2 separate regions of the Homo sapiens genome follow, and region 1 is linked to region 2. The links are contacts of gene promoters, found by promoter capture Hi-C in human tissues and cell types (Jung and others, 2019). All regions are on one chromosome and are shown on one strand. Each heading gives the region's core, a stretch centred on a gene start or on the middle of the fragment in contact. The rest is flanking DNA. Distances are from core to core; before and after follow the strand shown. Region 1 has its middle 14 kb from the start of LINC00619. Region 2 holds the start of TMEM72 (transmembrane protein 72).

Region 1 (2,700 bases), core at 125-2,624, 1.1 Mb before region 2:
AAACTGTTGGTGGGAATTTAAATTAATACAGTCATTTTGGGAAACAGTATGGAGGTTCCTCAAAAAGTTAAAAACAGATCCAGCCATGGTGGCTCATGCCTGTAATCCCAGCACTTTGGGAGGCTGAGGCAGGTGGATTACAAGGTCAGGAGTTTGAGACCAGCCTGGCCAATATGGTGAAACCCCGTCTCTACTAAAAATACAAAAATTAGCTGGGCATGGTAGTCCTAGCTGCTCGGGAGGCAAAGGCAGGAGAATCGCTTGAACCCAGGAGGCAGAGGGTGCAGTGAGTCGAGATTGTGCCACTGCACTCCAGCCTGGGTGACAGAGCAAGACTCCATCTCAAAAAAAAAAAATTAAAAACAGAACTACCATATGGTCGAGCCATTATGCTTGTGGATATATAGCCAAAGGAAATGAAATACTTATGTTGAAGAGGTATCTGCACTCCCATGTTCACTGCAGCATTATTATCCAGAGCTAAGATATGGAAACAGCCTAACTGTCCATCAACAAATAAATGAATAAGAAAAATATAGTATATATACACAACAACATACTATTCAGCCTTTAAAAAGAAAGAAATCCTGTCATTTGCAACAAGGATAAACCTGGATGACATTATGCTAAGTGAAATAAACCAGGCATAGAAAGACAAATACTACAAGGTCTCACTTATATGTGGAGTCTAAGAGTTGAACTCACAGAAGCAGAGAGGTGGTTACCAGGGGCTGGAGAGTAGGAAACAGGGAAGATATTGGTTAAAGAATGTAGAATTTCAGTTAGACAGGAGGAATAAGTGGGAATTCTATTGTGCAACATGGTGATTATAGGAAACAACAATGTATTATATGCTTGAAAATTGCTCAAAGAGTAGATTTTAAATTTTCTCACCATCAAAAAAGATGTGTGAGGTTAATTAGCTTGATTTAGTCATTTCACAATATATACATATATTAAAACATCATGTTATACACCTTAAATAAATATACAATTTTGTCAATTAAAAAAAGTAAAAAGAGAAATAAGATTGGAGTGAAATAATTAGAAATATAATTACTCATAGATACATTATTGTCTATATGCTAAATGCCACAGAATGTACAATGGAATCATTAAATTGATAAAATATGTATCTGTTGTTTCCTGACTTTTTAATGATCGCCATTCCAACTGGCGTGAGATGTATCTCACTGTGGTTTTGATTTGCATTTCTCTAATGACCAGTAATGATGAGCTTTTTTTCATATGTTTGTTGGCCACATAAATGTCTTCTTTTGAGAAGTGTCTGTTCATATCCTTTGCCCACTTTTTGATGGGGTTGCTTGTTTTTTTCTTGTAAATTTGTTTAAGTTCTTTGTAGATTCTGGATATTGGCCCTTTGTCAGATGGATAGATTATAAAAATTTTCTCCCATTCTGTAGGGTGTCTGTTCACTCCGATAATAGTTTCTTTTGCTGTGCAGAAGCTCTTTAGTTTAATTAGATCCCATTTGTCAATTTTGGATTTTGTTGCCGTTGCTTTTGGTATTTTAGTCATGAAGTCTTTGCCTATGCCTATGTCCTGAATGGTATTGCCTAGGTTTTCTTCTAGGATTTTTACGGTTTTAGGTCTTATGTTTAAGTCTTTAACCCATCTTGAGTTAATTTTTGTATAAGATGTAAGGAAGGGGTCCAGTTTCAGTTTTCTGCGTATGGCTAGCCAGTTTTCCCAGCACCATTTATTAAATAGGGAATCCTTTCCCCATTTCTTGTTTTTGTCAGGTTTGTCAAAGATCAGATGGTTGTAGATGTGTGACATATTTTCTGAGGCCTCTGTTCTGTTCCATTGGTCTATATATCTGTTTTGGTACCAGTACCATGCTAGTTTTGGTTACTGTAGCCTTGTAGTATAGTTCGAAGTCAGGTAGTGTGGTGCCTCCTGCTTTGTTCTTTTTGCTTAGGATTGTCTTGGCAATGCAGGCTCTTTTTTGGTTCCATATGAAATTTAAAGTAGTTTTTTCTAATTCTGTGAAGAAAGTCCATGGTAGCTTGATGGGCATAGCATTGAATCTATAAATTACTTTGGCAGTATGGCCATTTTCACAATATTGATTCTTCTTATCCATGAGCATGGAATGTTTTTCCATTTGTCTGTGTACTCTCTTATTTATTTGAGCAGTGGTTTGTAGTTCTCCTTGAAGAGGTCCTTCACATCCTTTGTAAGTTGTATTCCTAGGTATTTTATTGTCTTTGTAGCAATTGTGAATGGCAGTTCACTCATGATTTGGCTCTCTGTTTGTGTATATTATTATTAATGTACTATTACATTATTAGTGTATAGGAATGTTTGTGATTTTTGCACACTGATTTTGTATCCTGAGACTTTGCTGAAGTTGCTTATCAGCTTAAGGAAATTTTGGGCTGAGATGATGGGGTTTTCTAAATAAACAATCATGTCATCTGCAAACAGAGACAATTCGACTTCCTCTCTTCCTATTTGAATACATTTATTTCTTTCTCTTGACTGATTGCCCTGGCCAGAACTTCCAATATTATGTTGCATAAGAGTGGTGAGAAAGGGCATCCTTGTCTTGTGCTGGTTTTCAAAGGGAATGCTTCCAGCTTTTGCCTATTCAGTATGATACTGGCTGTGGGTTTGTCATAAATAGCTCTTATTATTTTGAGATACATTCCATCAATACCTAGTTTATTGAGAGTT
Region 2 (2,700 bases), core at 86-2,585:
AGGGGAAGGAGAAGGGGAGGGAGGGGAGGGGAAGGGAGGGGAGGGAAGGGCCAAACTAATTGTTCTTGAGTTTTCCGTTATTATTGGCAGACCTTGGCTTTCCATGGTTCAACTTAGGATGGTGTGAAAATGATGTACATTCAGTAGAAATTGTACTTTAAATTTTGGATTTTGATGTTTTCCTGGGCTAGCAACATGCCCTACAATATATTCTTACATGAGCTACTCCACACTTTATAACATAAACCTTGTGTTAGATGATTTTGCCCAACCATAAACTAAGTGTTCTGAGCACATTTAAGTAGGCCAGGCTAAGCTCTGATGTTCAGTAGGTTGGTTGGATTAAGTGCATTTTTAACTTAAAATATTTTCAATGTCTGATGGGTTTTTTGGGACATAACCCCATCATAAGTTGAGGAGCATGTGTATTGGGTTTGCTTGGAGTTTTTTTCCTTATTTGGTTGTTTTGTTTTCTATCTTATATGAGCAAAGGGGTAAAAGATTTCAGAAAAACACCTGAGAGATAAATCTTAATACCATTCAATCTAGCACATCCGTTAGTAAATTAAGAATGAGGGAAAGCCCACCACTGTCCAAGTGTAAAGGCTGGGCTCCTTGAAACAGCTACAGGGACACTCCAAGTACATCAAAAACACCAATTCAGCCAAAACTTCACATTTATTTTCTGCAAAAGTTACCAAGGCTCACAGATGCCTTTGGGTTTCCCCAAGGTCACCCGGTTAATTATTGACATAGCAACTCCCCTCGCAAAACAAAGAATCAAAATGATTTCCCACGTCCCATGTTGGGATGCATGTTAATGAGGAAGGAAGGCCTCTGCGTGGCGGGGCCTGAGCTAAGTATGTCTAGTCAGAGTCCAAATCCGGGACAGATTTGAAAAGCTTTCTAATCCACCTATACGCAGAAGAATAAAGCTTGGAACTCATTTCAAAAGTTGTTTCTACTGGTGATTTAAAGACACACTCCTCTCTCCCATATGCACATAAGCACAGACCTGCAAGAGCACTGTCCCCTCCAGAGCCAGACACTACAGGCCCCCAGCAAGTGTGAAATCCAGGTGTGACTTTCTAGGCATGGCTTGGTGAGGAAGGGCCTGGCCCACTCCTTGGCTCCCTCCTCCCAGCCAGAAACGGTTAATTGCCAGCTCCAGACTGCCTCCAGCCCAGCCCTAATCGCCGATCTCAGGCGGCTGGGCTGCGCTGGGGCTGAGCGGCTCCAGCCCAGGCTGGGGTTGTGTGAGCAGCAGGAGCATTCTTCCAAGGTAATGATTAAGCTGAGTGCCTGGCAAGGGCACGGGCTGAGAGCACAGAAGGTGAGCCCTATTCACACCTCGGCCAGGCTGCGGTGGCCAGGACTGGTTTGGGAAGGCAGGGCCCCGGTGTGCAGCCACAGCCAGCAGCCTCCTACCTACACAAGGGTGTTCGGGAGCATCTCAGGGCCGAAGACTTTGCTGCCTGCCCTGCCAGGACTTTGTCCTCACCCCTGGCACCATGCAGCTCCAGGTGTTCTGGACTGGGCTGGAATACACCTGCCGGCTCCTGGGCATCACCACTGCTGCAGGTAAGACCCTGCCTCCTGGCTGCTGATCCTTGCACACTGGCACCACAGATAGGGCTGCCTGAGGGGTGGGAGGTGGCCAGGAGACAGCAGGCACATCTGGCCACTTCTGTGCTTCAATTTTTTTCCCAAGACCCCTAGAAACACTGCTCTGTAGAGCAGCAGCAAGTGCAGTGGGGTGAGCCTAGGGCTGGGGACCAGAGGGCTGGGTGCTGGATCTTTGCTTGGCAAGTCACCCTCCCTGTGACCTTGGGAAGCCTCAAGATCCTCATCTGCAAAATGATTCCAGGGGCCACCCCACCTACGCAGAGAGTTGTCATGAGATGGAGGTGGAGACAGAAGGTGAAGATAGAAAGGGCTGGGCTTCGCTGTGTATCTACAAAAGGTCAACTGAGCTCATCCTGCTTTACTCAAACCATAGCCCTACCTCATGGAGAGAGAACTCCCAGTCATGAGCAGCTCTGCCCTGGAGGGACAGGCTGAGCCTGGCTGGACGTGGAGATCACAGGCTTCCCTCGGGCCCATGCTGGACCCTGTTAACAGAACACCCTGTAGGAACCCAGACCCCTGTCTGAGGTCTGACTGCAGGAATGCACTGTGGTCTTAGCAGCAGAGATGCTTCCCAGAGATGCTGGGCTCCTTCCTTCACCCAGCAGAATCACAGGGCTGCTCAACTGGACAGGAGGGCAGACTGTTAGAGCAGAGCCCAGAGCCACCATCCTGAGCCCTGCCTGCTCGCTTCCCCAGGGCAGGCCTGACCCTTAGCCCCATTCCCCCTACAGAGCCAGGATCTGTTTTGGGGAAATGAACAGGCAGAATTCTGAGCCCTTAACTCTGAGCCACATTGTCCCTTGGGGACAAAGAGAGACACACCCCCTATCAAAGCCCTTCCCCACCACTGGGCAAAAGCTTACCCACGGGTCTTACCAAATGGGAAAGTTCTCCTAGGTCAAAATCACATAGTGCTTGTTCCTGCCCCAGCCTAGTCACTTGCGTGATATATGACCTTGGGGAGCCCCTGACCCCTCTGAGGCTGCACTTTCTGATCTGTATGATGGGGACCTGCTGGCCAGGTGTTTGGACAGATTAAGGATGCAGGAACTGAGCATGGCTAAGTGGAAC

What was found. Contacts are between HindIII fragments. The study calls those that stand out against the background at their distance.
Region 1: a fragment that was not itself captured here is called in contact with the fragment with the promoter of TMEM72 in region 2 in 1 of the 25 tissues and cell types used here (dorsolateral prefrontal cortex).

What each region holds. Positions count from the first base shown.
Region 1 is chr10:43,830,078-43,832,777 of GRCh38, forward strand. No RefSeq gene overlaps it. Among named protein-coding and RNA genes, the nearest start is that of LINC00619, 14 kb to the right of the region's middle. The HindIII fragment of the contact is 4,882 bases long and covers 1-2,700 here.
Region 2 is chr10:44,910,002-44,912,701 of GRCh38, forward strand. It overlaps TMEM72 (transmembrane protein 72), which reads left to right and starts at 1,336. Exons shown (of 5, transcript NM_001123376.3): 1 at 1,336-1,581. The coding sequence starts at 1,512. The region is part of intron 2 of TMEM72-AS1 (TMEM72 antisense RNA 1); the gene reads right to left. The HindIII fragment of the contact is 5,310 bases long and covers 1-2,700 here.